2 separate regions of the Homo sapiens genome follow, and region 1 is linked to region 2. The links are contacts of gene promoters, found by promoter capture Hi-C in blood cells and fetal thymus (Javierre and others, 2016). All regions are on one chromosome and are shown on one strand. The core of a region is centred on a gene start or on the middle of the fragment in contact, and the rest is flanking DNA. Distances in the headings are between cores, read along the strand shown. Region 1 overlaps PLA2G4A (phospholipase A2 group IVA). Region 2 holds the start of PDC (phosducin).

Region 1 (6,790 bases), core at 2,672-5,171, 490 kb after region 2:
TTTTGAGAAGGTTCTTTGTTGAGAAGTTTCTTTAGAGGCCGGCAGTCTGGCAGCTTATTGACTCGGACTGTGTGTCAGACTGAGGGGGAATATCGTGTATGTGTGATCCGCCAGTCAGCAGGAAGCATGTTACCTCAGATTAAGTAAGGATTTCCAGAAATGAAACCAGAGAGGTGACCAAGAGGACTCTGAGGACTCCTGGTGACTACTCTATCCTTTGGCTGACTGAAGTCTATCTCCTAAAGGAGTGTTCAGAGATGATTTTTACTTTTTTGTTTTCTTCCTTCTGAAGAAAGACTTTAAGGTAAATTGGGCTACAATCAGGTAACTCTGAATGAAACTACTTACTCTCTAAGGAGTTTTGAATGAATGTGAAAAATTTACACTTTTGAGAGATGGAGTTGTACATTATACTAGGATGGAAAATATGTAAATTCAGAATAGTTAGCTATTCATATCGTGAATTCTTCCTTACAAATAAGACAGTATTTTGGTGAACTATTTTCTTAAACTATCATATGTGACAGAAAGAAAGAAAGGAAAGAAAGAAAGAAGAAAGAAAGAAGAAAAAGAAGGAAAAAGAAAGAAAGAGAAAGAAGGAAGGAAGGAAGGAAAGAAGAAAGAAAGAGAAAGAAAGAAAGAGAAAGAAAGAAAAGAAAGAAAGAAAGAAAAAAGAAAAAGAAAGAAGAAAGAAAGAAAGGCAATAGAAAGAAAGAAAATACTTAAGGAAGGAAAAGAAAATAAATGTAGGACTAGAAACACACCTAATGTATATGGCACCTGGGATAGATCATTTCTTAACATCTCCCACACCTCTGTGTAACAAAATTACTATTGATGATAGCCATGAAATGAAACTAATAATATTAGCTTGTGAACATTTAATCAAATTTTTTATGTATAATCATGCCAGTAAAAACTTAAAAAATAAATGTCAATCCATTGCCTTAAGCATTTATTAACCCTTCCATTACTAACTCTTGCTCATTCACGCACATTTTACTTGAAAAAAGACAACTAGTCTGGGCACTGTGGCTCACACCAGTAATCCCAGTTCTTTGGGAGGCCAAGGAAGGATGATCACTTGAGTCCAGGAGTTTGAGACCAGCCTAGGCAATAGAGTGAGACTTCATTTCTACCAAAAAAAAAAAAAAAAAATTAAAAAAATTAGCCAAGCATGATGGTCCATGCCTATAATCCCAGCTACTCAGGAGGCTAAGGTGGAACGGTTGCTTGAGCCCAGAGGCAGAGGTTGAAATGAGCAGAGATCATGCCACTGCAGGCCAGCCTGGGTAACCATTTAAAAAACATAAAGAAGAAAGATAACTAGTTATTATGCTAGAATTTACTGCTGTCTTTGTTTTAAGGATTTCTGGTTGTTATTTTAGTTTTTATAACTGCTCTCTTAATATGTTCTGCAGGAAGCACAAATTCTTGACACCAAAAGGTGAATTTCAACTGACAATTTTCAATATTATTGAAAGTCAAAAGATAATTTATGTTAGTATCTTTCATTCATTTTAAGAAAACTGTTTGGTAGCTCACCTGTAGATTTTGGTTTTATCCTTTATCTTCATAAACACCACTTAAAAATATCTAATAAAGAAAAAGGCATATTTTTTGGTATAACAAGGAGCTTCCTATAATCAAGTTGTTATTTTTGTCAGAATTATGATAAACATAAAATTATCCTCTTTAAGTCATGAATTAATAAATATAAACTAATTTTTCATGTCCCAGGAAATTTTGTTTCCAGTGAGAAATCTGAGAACATGATTAAATCTAATAAATCTAGAATTATTAAATGGATTTAAATTTATACTAGTAGAGCTAGTAGATCTCACTCTGTGGTTTTGCTCAGATTACTTTTTTATATTAAAATTAATTGTTAATTTTGACACCTGAAATGCTTCAATTTTTTTGTTTTCTTTTCACAGAAAATATTACCACAAAGCATATTGTGAGTAATGATAGCTCGGACAGTGATGATGAATCACACGAACCCAAAGGTGAGTGAGCCGGAAACTTTTCTGGCCCAGATCCATGAGGAAAGGATATGAACACTCTGTCTGATTTTCTCACTCAAGATGCTGATGGTAATCTTCACTTCAGACACGGAAGTGATAAAATTGTAGCTTTCTGTTGAGAGAGAGGATTGCATGTTGCATGTCTAATAAAATAGGCAGCACATATAAATCCCTAATTTATTTTGTTTTAATACCTCAAAAATACTATAAGTTGAACAAATGAACAGATCCAAGATGGTAGAAATGCTGAATTCTATTTTAAGTCTGATTAGAGCACTAGGCTTCTCAGCATGGTTACTGTGATTTGGGAACATTTTTAGATGGCTTTAAAAATTAACATTTTGTCTTTCAGAATTTTGTTATTAAGTAACATGAAAAATTATATTCTCACTCCATTCCTGACCCTTATCCCACTGGCTACACCCTCCCTCTTGAGAAAGGATTAGTGATGAAGTGGGGTAAAAGTATCAAGAACTTGATACGTATATTATTTCATAGTATAAATGAGCCCTTTTACATTTTGACAAGGTAGTTTGCAGTTTGGTGTGGATTATGATAGTCAGTGATGGACTTGGGGCAGAGATAAGGTGAGGATCAGATTTGCAACAAATATGAAAGTCATATTTGTTGTAAATGTTTTGTGGTAAAATAGATTATTTTGACACAGTGTTTTGAGACAGCCATTTATAAAAATGTTCCCAATAGTTAAAAAAAAGCCAACAAACAAAAACAAAAACAACAACAACAAAAAACAAAACAAAGGGAAGGCTTTATAAGAACTGGATATATCTGTCCTATTACAGTTTGAATATGATCATCTAGATTTTAGAAGATATTAAATGCTTTCTGGTCCAAAACTTAATTAATTCCACTAGGCATGGAAGAGCCTGTTTTATCCTTGCTTAATTATTACTAAAATTAAAATTCTTTTTTCATAGCTGGGCTATTACTTCCTCAGAAGATGTGTTTGTGTAAATTAAAGAAAAGCTGCCTTCTCTGGAGAATGTAGCTGCACAGGGCCATGGCTTGGCTAGTGTATGTTGTCTTGCGAACATTAAAAAAGAGGATTCCTTCCCTGGGCAGCCAACGCTTTCATCTGGGCATGAGGCTTGGCTAGATGAGTGCAAGTTGGGTTCAGCCCTGATTTGCCCCCCTATCCTGCTGCGTTATGTAGCCCATGATCTGCCTAATCAAATAATGACCAGCAGCCCTGATCATTAAGCAGGAACCCCAAAAGAACCCTGTCCTGGAAGCAAGCAAGTCTTCATCCTGGCTCCTTCATTTTTAAAATTTAAAATTTATATATATTTTAGTTGTTTAAGTCCTTTTTGTTTTGAATTTCCTTTTAATGAAGGAAGCTAGCTATTGTAAAGGGGATAGCTATCACATGCCTAGCATCTTTAGAATTATTTGTGTATTGATTTAGGGACTACTGAGGAGACAGAATAATGGTTTCTCCATTATTAAGTATTTCTATAGATAGTCAGTACATTTGATAACCCCTACAGTACTAGCTGAGTCTTAAGGCTGAGAAGTTCAAGGACTGTTGAATATGGCTGCTTTGGTTTTAGGATCAGCCTTGCTTACAGCATGATATGTAGTATGTGGTTAAGGTTTTCTTTTCGGCTCTTAGTATTTATTTTTTCTCTTTTACATAGAGTTTTTAGAGCAGTTTTAGGCTCAAAGCAAAACTGAGCACAAAGTACAGAGTTCCCATATGTCCCCTGTCCACCTTCCACCACCCCTGCCTCTCCCACTATAAACATTCCACACCAGAGTGGTACATTTGTTACAAGTGATGAACTTAAATTGACATTATTATCAGTCAAAGTCCATAGTTTACAGTAGGACTCACTGTTAGTGTATATTCTATGGGTTTTGACAAATATGTAATGACATATATTCATCATTATACATGTCACACACACTAGTTTCACTGCTCTAAAAATCCTGTCTCCTGCCCCGTCCCCTCCTCCCCCAACCCCTAACAAGCACTAATCATTTTACTCTCTCCATAGTTTTGCCTTTTCCAGAATGTCATGTAGTCAGAATCAAACAATAATGTAGCCTTTTCAGATCTTTCACTTAGTAGTGTGCATTTAAAGTTCCTCTATGTTTTTTCTTGGCTTCATAGCTTATTTTTTTAGCACTGAATAATATTACATTGTCAGGTTGTGCCACAGTTTAGTTATTCATTCACCTGCTGAGGAAGGTGAACTTGGAAAACTTGAAGTTTGCTTCCAAGTTTTGGACATTATGAATAAAACTGCTAGAAAAATCTATGTACATGTTTTGGTGCAGACACAGATTTTTCAGTTTATTTGGGTAAATACCATGGAGCACAATTGCTGGATCATATGGTAAGAGTATATTTAGTTTTGTAAGAAACTGCCAAATGGTCTTCCAAAGTGGCTGTACCATTTTGCATTCCACTACCAGCCATGAATGAGAGTTCTTGTTGCTCCACATCTTTTAAACATTTGGTATTACCTGTGCTTTGGATATTGGTCATTCTAATAGGTATGTAGTAGTATCTTTTTATTGTTTTAATTTGCATTTCTCAAATGACATTTAACTTGAAGCATCTTCTCATATGCTTATCTGCTATCTGTATATCGTTTTGATGAGGTATCAGTTCAGGCCTTTGGCCCATTTTTGGATTGGGGTTATTTTCTTATTATTGAATTTAAAGTGTTCTTTGTATGTTTTATATTACATGTTTTAAATCAAATATGTCTGTTGCAAATAATTTCTTTCAATCTGTGGGTTATCCTTTTATTCTCTTGAGGCTCTTTCATGTTTAGTCATATGATTTTGAGCAAAGTTTTAGGCATTTTCAGCTTTAGTTTCTTCAGACCTATCCTGGAACCATTTACCTTCTCTCACAGAATTGTTGCAATCATTAATTTAGCAAATGCATACAAAAGGGCTCTAAGTTGTAAAGGGCGATGCAAATAGAAATGTACTATTACTGTTATGATTAATAAGCAATAAGTATCATTTATATGTTGACTGTTGGGTTTGTCCCACAAGTGATGCCATTATCAAAGGTATCCTGGTATGGAAGTGAGGGCTTATTGAATAAGAAGAAGAAAAGTAAGAAGCGACAGCCCCAAAATCTTTGGAAATAATTGCATATCCTATTTATATGCTGTGTAACTAGAGATAGAAATCGTTCACTTTAAAGCCTGAATTGTTCTAGTAAAAGACATATTTTGTCCTGTTTGGCATTAGAAAAGTGTAAGAGTAGAAAGTAGTGTATTTGTTTTTGGTGACTATATAGTCATCTGGACTGGTTACTGAATGAAAGATCTCTTCATTTACTCAGCTCAGTTAAACAAATACCTGTGAAGATAAGGATTATAAATCATGCTACTATAAAGACACATGCACATGTATGTTTATGGTGGCGCTATTCATAATAGCAAAGACTTGGAACCAACCCAAATGTCCATTGTGGTAGACAGGATTAAGAAAATGTGGCAAATATATACCATGGAATACTATATAGCCATAAAAAAGGATGGGTTCATGTCCTTTGCAGGAACATGCATGAAGCTGGAAACCATCATTCTCAGCAAACTATCACAAAGACAGAAAACCAAACACCACATATTCTCACTCATAGGTGGGAATTAAACAATAGAACACTTGGACACCGGGTGGGGAACATCACACACCAGGGCCTGTCAGGGTGTGGGGGGCTGGGGGAGGGATAGCATTAGGAGAAATACCTAATATAAATGATGAGTTGATGGGTGCAGCAAACCAACATGACACATGTATAGCTATGTATCAAACCTGCACATTGTGCACATGTACCCTATAATTTTAAGTGTAATAAAAATATATATTTATTATGGTTTTATGTATGTTTAGTTTACATTTATTGGAAATTATGAAGCTGACTATAGAATCTCTTTTTTCTCTTTATTTCAACACACACACACACAATCACGCACACATACACACACAGTTTTATAAATGTGTGACTATTTATATACAGGGTTCCTAGAAATCAGAAAAAAACGGGGTTTAGGCAGGTGAAGTTATACATTACCATAAATTATTCTTTGATTTTGATTATGAATAAATAAGATTGATGATTATGATGCTTCTGCTGCTGCTGCTACAACTGTTTCTGCTGCTAGCTAGTGTTTATTAAGAATTTAATACGAGCCAGGCATTTTTCTAAGAACATTACATAGATGCACAAACACAGTTAATTCTCACAACTTTAGGAGGTTTATCAGTGAGGAAATGGAGGAAGAGAAGGGGAAAGTAACTAGAAAATAGTGGAGAGAGGGTTGAGACCCAAGGATTCTGATTCTGGAGGCAGTGCTATAAATGACCATACAATATAATTTCCCAGGAGTAATGGTGTATGCATAGGTGGTAAGGAAAAAGTCATTTAAAACTGCTTCTTTGGGGTGATTGCTGAATTTTAAAATGTTTAGGCATTTGTTTAAATTAAAGGCTTTTAAATCCCCAAACTTTATAAGCAAGGATGAAATGACAGGTCATAAGATCAATAGGTCATAAGGGTGTTTATTTAGTAGCAAATATATGTTGAATCCTTTAGCTCTCTCTCCTCATTTTGCAGAAATCCTGAATGTTTGTTAAACAGGGTAAGATTTCTTAAGGTAACTTAAGAAATGTAGAGGATAGAATTAACCACTGGATTTTCTGTGTGTAAGTTATATGTGTGCATGCAAGTGCGTGCACTTGAAGCCAGAGAAAAGGAAGAAATCAATTCAGGAAAG
Region 2 (6,463 bases), core at 1,778-4,277:
TTTCCTATCTGTTATCCTGTATCATCAGTAAAAAAAAATTTACTCTGGAAATATGAGCTTTAAAAGTCATAACTGAATTCTTGTTCCTAGTGAAAAGACATCCACCTATCCAAGTTTGCTATTATGACATACAGATATTCTTTTTTTTTTTTTTTTTTTTTTTTTAGAAAGAAGGTTGAGACAAGAGCACAACTTTTAATACAAAATAAAAAGAATTAAGTGGCATCTGGGACAAAAAATTAGGGAACTAAAATAATTCAAAGGAAAGAGAAAAAGTCTTGGTCATGTTTGCCAAGCTTTGAATATTAGACCTTGCTTTTTTCCCAGAGATTGTCAGTGCACGCTGGTTGTGCAATATCAACCAGGATTAGGCAGGTGTGGGAGCCACAGAAGCCACTCCACCACACTTTTAAGTCATTTCATTAGAGTCGCCTCAGAAGTCCTGGTGAGACAATCCTAGGAGTCCTCTTTGGCTGTCTTGCTTGATATTCTCAAGCAAGTCCATTCTGCTAGACGCCTGCATCTGGGTACTCCTCCCTTTTTAACTCCAGTCCCCACAGGGTCATTTAAGAAAATGTATGCATGTTTCTGATTCATAACTATATTATGATGATTATTCTTATAAACCCTTTTGACGTCTAAAAGCCTTAGAGCCACTCAACAGTCCTGTTTGGGCCAGTCTCCTGGAATATGAGAAAAGATGAAGAATGGGAGTGTTATGGAGGGCATACGCCCCTCTGATCATCACCACAAAGAGTGGAGCCCTTCATGGTCCCAGCTGAAAGCCTGGAGAGGCTGCGCGCGGTGGCTCACGCCTGTAATCCCAACGCTTTGAGAGGCCAAGGCAGGTGGATCACTTGAGCGCAGGAATTCAAGACCAGCCTGGGCAACATGGCAAAACCCCATCTCTACAAAAAGTACAAAAATTAACCGGGCGTGGTGGTGGGTGCCTGTAGTCCCAGATACTCCGGAGGCTGACGCAGGAGAATCGCTTGAACCTGGGAGGCGCAGGTTGCAGTGAGCCGACATCTCGCCACTGCACTCCAGCCTGGGGGACAGAATGAGACTCCAACTCAAAAAAAGAAAAAAAGAAAAAGAAAGCCTGGGGATATTTACCAGGACCCTTCCTCCTTTTCAGGCCCTAGATTCTAAGATCCTGCTTTGCAGATCTGAAGTGGGACCCAGGAATCTTTAACAAGCTCTAAGCCTGCCGAGTGCCTGCGATTGCAGGCACGCGCCGCCACGCCTGACTGGTTTTGGTGGAGACGGGGTTTCGCTGTGTTGGCCGGGTCTCCAGCCCCTAACCGCGAGTGATCCGCCAGCCTTGGCCTCCCGAGGTGCCGGGATTGCAGACATACAGATATTCTTTTACTTGTTCTGGAGAAAATAGAATTTTAGAAATTCATAACAGCCATCTTTTTTAAAGTATCTGTTTATCTTGTAAATATACATATTCCTGTACATATTGTTTGAATTCCATTACAGACATTATTATGAATGGTTCATATATATTTTGATAATGACTTATATAATATCAAATCCACTTATAAACATAGTATTTGGGCAGAAATTGTCATGATGAATTAGATGATCTCTAAAGTTTTTTCTAGCTTTAATATGAGGTGATTCTAAGTAGCAGGTACAATGGACAATATGTGTGTGTGTGTATATATATATATATATATATATATATATTTAAAATGGACTCTATAGTTAGAAGCTATTTTTGCAGTTAATAAAAATACTCCATTGCAAATCAATTACTGCACTCATTTTCATGATGCAAACTGTAAGGTTTATTAGTAATAATAATAACCTCCATGGAAACAAAATAGAAAAAAAAAAACCAATTGAAAGAAAATTTTCACTGAATTTAAGAAATATCAACAAACTCTGTGTTCTTTTCTTTTAAAAACATTATTTCTGTTTCATTAAATTTCTAAAGTAACCTTTCAAAACAAACATTATTTCTACTTTAAAAATTAAAAACCACCAACAAACCACCGCCACAACAACATACTACTAAGGAAAAGCCTCAAAACATGCCTTAGCGCCGGATGAATACAGCAGTCCTCACTTATCTGAGGTTTTTCTTTCTGTGATTACAGTTACCCTTGGTCAACCTTGGTCCAAAAATATTAGATGAAAAATTCCAGAGATAAACAATTTGCAAGTTTTAGATTTGCAGTGTACTGAGTAGCTTGATGAAATCTCACACTATCCTGCTCTCTCTGGCCTGGAACATGAAACATCTCTTTGTATACCATATCCACACCATATGCATTACTGTCTTGGTTATCAGATTGACTATTGCAGTGCTTGTGTTCAAGTAACCCTTATTTACTTAATAAGGTCCCAAAGCGCAAGTGTTGTGATGGTAGCATATTGTTATAAAGGTTCTATTTTATTATTAGTGATTATGGTTAACCTCTGACTGTGTCTAATTTATAAATTAAACTTTATCACAGGTATGTATGTTCAGGAAAACAACATAGTATACACACAAGGTTCAGTTTTATCTATGGTTTTAGGCATCCAGTGGGGGTCCTGGAACATATCCCCCTTGGATAAGGGGCAACTACCGCACTCCTTTTCCAACTTGGGAGCCAGATCTTCAAACATAAAGTGCAAGGACTCATCATTTATTCTCTTTAGTTCTCCCTTCACTCAAAGGAAATTTAAAATTGCAAAATGAGTTCTCCATTCATGGTCTTATTTTAACAGTCTAGAATATCAGGCTCAAAATTGCGTGTTTACTCTGAATCTGTATTAGTGAAGATGACTGGTGGAAATCACTGAAAGAGAGAAGGATACGCTGTATTTAATTGTCTTTATAGTAGATAATTCAAAACCTTATGTACTTTGAACTATTTTACATTAACACAATAATACATAAACAGTGAATCACCATTCTTTCCCCTAAGGTAAAATTTTTAAAATTATATTATCAAAAGGACTACTTGTGGACTCACAGTTTGGATCTCTGTGCCTGGTGTCCTTGTTGAGTGGGTGAGAATCCCTGTCTACTGAACTCGTCTTGAACTTCAATAGGTTTAAGCTCAGATTTAAAATCTCCAGATATTGATGACCCTTGCAGAAATAGCTCTGAACAAGTAATAGGATTGACAGAATTAGCAAGGCCAGTTCATTAATAATAAGGCAAAACCAAACAAAGAGTAGTCAGTTTATATTTTACAGAACACATTGAATAGATGAGAGACAGAGGTCATTATTAGTACTATTTATCGCAATAACATGAGTTGTATTCATTAGTCCCATAATCATCTACTGAGCACCTACTTTGTGTGAAACAAGCAGTAGCTAGGCACTAGGGTACAAAGACAAATAAACCCTATTTCCTATATCGTGAGGCTTGCAGTCTAGTGGGGGAGACAGGTAAGTAAAAAGATAATCACAATGAAGTGCTATGATTACTACAACATTGGGAGGAATAAGAGAGATACTATGATTTTCATCTTCTCTTACTACAGGCTTTTAATACAATTTTTTCAGATGGGCTGTCTTTACAGATCTACTTGCTTTCTGGATTCTAGTTTTATTGGCATTTTCTCCTTTTCACTTCTCCTTATTGTTTCTGGTTTTTACCATTAAAAATTCCTTTCCTGCTGTTTTTTAATGGAGTTTTGAGATGTAGGGGAAGTAGATGCATGTGTTTAATCTTCCATCTTTTCCTAACATCTTTCATCCTCACAGCCAAATTCTCATCTAACTTTGCCAAAGTAGGAGATTTAATTTACTCTAAGCTTAAAACTGGAAATTTTTAATTAGCAAGAGGACAAAATTTTTAATATTAATGGCAATTAAAATGAACACATTTAGATTTTTAAATTATAAGGTTTAGTCATATGTAGCTTCACCCAGAAACTTTAAGTGGATCTTAATGCAATTTAAACAGTGATAGTGTCTAAATAAATTTTAATAGTTATGTTTTATTATACTAAATTAATTTGTCATTTATTTACTCTTTGTTAGTAAGAGGGAAACCTGTCACATTTCAGAACTTTGTTTGCTTATATATTTTTTATTGTAGAATTTGATTTCAAGAATAGAGAAGAGTACATAAAATTTACAATATTTAAGAGAGTCACAACCATAAATATTTTCAAAGAGATTCTTCCAGAAATCAAAGTATTTTCTAAATTAACTTTCATTTTCATCCTTAAATCAAATTTTTACCTCCCATTTAGCAGGTTTCATGTTCCAGTTTGTGTGCTATACATATGCTTTTCAACAGAGTTTCTCAGGGCAATTCACTTTCAGTTTTTATGAACTGAGTGTTTTCTCTCTAGCTAAAGAATCTAGAATGTAGTCAGGTGCAATACAAATGTAACTTAAAAGATGCCTTCTGATGGCAAATGTGAAGAAATTTAATATTTCAGTTTGATGATAAAAAATGTCATAGTGGTTTTAACATTCAAAAAATATGTTTTAAGTTACTGTCAAATATAGCTTGGTACTCATATGTTCAAATATGTAATATAGGCACAAGCATAGAGACTTAACGGTAAAAAAAAAATTACTATAGCAATTCCTATCCTACCCCCACCTTCCCAACACAGATATTTCCATAATTTGCTTTTTATTTTGTGCTATCTCTGGCACCTGTTCACTGGAGGGATTTGGGGTCATTACGGACATCACACACTTGCCTACAATTTGGACAAGCATATCTGATCTAATTGCTTCAATTATGAATTGAGTAATTTTTGTAGATCATGAAAACTTGTCAAGAGTCAAAGCCCAAAAGGTCATTATTTCACACATATGATTCTTGATTGATGTAAAAACATTTAAAAGTATTAGAATTATATGTTGATATAGTGTTTAGATTTTTATATATGATTTTACATCCAATTTTAAGAATACTAAATACTTTACAAGGCACAAACATTATAAACCAGCTGAAAATAATCTTAGAAAACAGAAATAAAAATATTAATAATTAGGACACTTTCTGAGTGCTCATCATGCCAGGTCAGGTACTAATTGTTTACTTCGCATAATCTTTACAACAATCCCCTGAGGTAGGTCAAGTATAATTTTATAGATGAGGAGACAGGCTTGGATAAGTTTTATAACTTATCTAACTGATGCATTTATTCCCCAATATTAGTGGAATGCCTACTGTGTGAAAGCACTCTTCTGTGGACAAGGTACTTCTATATACAGCAGCAAGAAAACAGTTTTTATGTTTCAAATGTTGACATTATGTCCATGCAGACCCCAGCGTTCGAATTCAGGTATGACTTAATTCCATGGTCCACACTGTTAACCAGTAAAGTCTCCTGTTTAGGGCAGATTAAATTACCTGCTCTAAAAAGATGAAATTACAGAATTTTCTTTAAATCCTAAACAGCCTTCAGTGTAGATTCTTCTGGTTCCAAGGCTGTCATATATATCTACTTGCTCTTTTTTTTTTTCTTTTTGAGCGTGAGAAAGTTAATTGTAAGGACAGAATTGAAAGAAAACCATGAATTCCTTAGGAGTTCAAGGACAGCTATACACTCTAGTCCTAGGAGAATGGAATGTCAGCTCAAAATCTTGGAGGATACAATGCTGGAGTAAACACCTTAGCAGCTGGGAGGGGTCTGTTGATCTTCCCAGTAGGGCTCAAATACCAAGATTGCGGCTTTCCATCCCACTAACCGCATGCACTGCCTGCCCCCAACCCTGCTCCTCCCGCCGTGGCTGATCTTCTGTCACTAGTTAATACTCTTCCTAAGGCCTTCCATATCACCTTTACTTTACAGCCTGTGCTTCCTCAATATATATTTTCTTATTTGTTCTGTTTTCCATAACCCCCCTCATGGCCTTGACTCTACTCAAGACACCTATCTATAGAAGTTTTTTAAGCCTCCCATCTATTGATAACAGCTTGGCTATTTCCATGTTTCCAAATGAGTATTCTGGGAGAATATGATTTGTTTAGCCGAAACCATTTTGCTTCATTATGCCATTGGCATAATTTGGCCAAGGTCACACCCTTGGTCTAATCAGCTTTAGCCAGATGGCAAGGTTATGTGATCTACATAGGGCTCCCTTTCAGTAGGGGCTGGGGAACTTTTAGTAATAAAGGGTGTAAATGAAGCAGGCGCTGTGGCAGACATCGTTTTTACTAAAAATAAACCTTTCCTTACTTTGAACTTGAAAACATGTCCCTCAGTCTTCAAATAGCAGAATTAAATTTAGAGCTGGAAGGGCATGTTTGGAAACAAGACCATACTGCTGAAAAGACTTACCAGAATGAGATAGTCCTGTAATTTCTTCTGTTTAGGATTTTATTTCCCTTTTCCAATATGCGTTCTACTCTTTCTTGTCTGAATTTTATTCTTCTTGGTTGAGAAGAGGAAAGCAAGGTAAGAATTCCAGTTTCTCTTTCTCTTAGCAATTTATTACTCATGTAAAGAGGAGACATATCTTCCTTCATTGTCTTCTTACTATA

The links. Contacts are between HindIII fragments. The CHiCAGO score rates a contact against its expected background, and 5 or more counts as called.
Region 1: a fragment that was not itself captured here is called in contact with the fragment with the promoter of PDC in region 2 in 1 of 17 cell types (erythroblasts); the score reaches 6.0 in erythroblasts.

The regions. Positions count from the first base shown.
Region 1 is chr1:186,948,720-186,955,509 of GRCh38, forward strand. It overlaps PLA2G4A (phospholipase A2 group IVA), which reads left to right. Exons shown (of 18, transcript NM_024420.3): 13 at 1,938-2,009. Among named protein-coding and RNA genes, the nearest start is that of PLA2G4A, 120 kb to the left of the region's middle. RefSeq lists a silencer at 1,945-2,145. The HindIII fragment of the contact is 9,445 bases long and covers 1-6,790 here.
Region 2 is chr1:186,458,087-186,464,549 of GRCh38, forward strand. It overlaps PDC (phosducin), which reads right to left and starts at 3,028. Exons shown (of 4, transcript NM_002597.5): 1 at 2,973-3,028. The region is part of intron 3 of PDC-AS1 (PDC antisense RNA 1); the gene reads left to right. The HindIII fragment of the contact is 3,468 bases long and covers 295-3,762 here.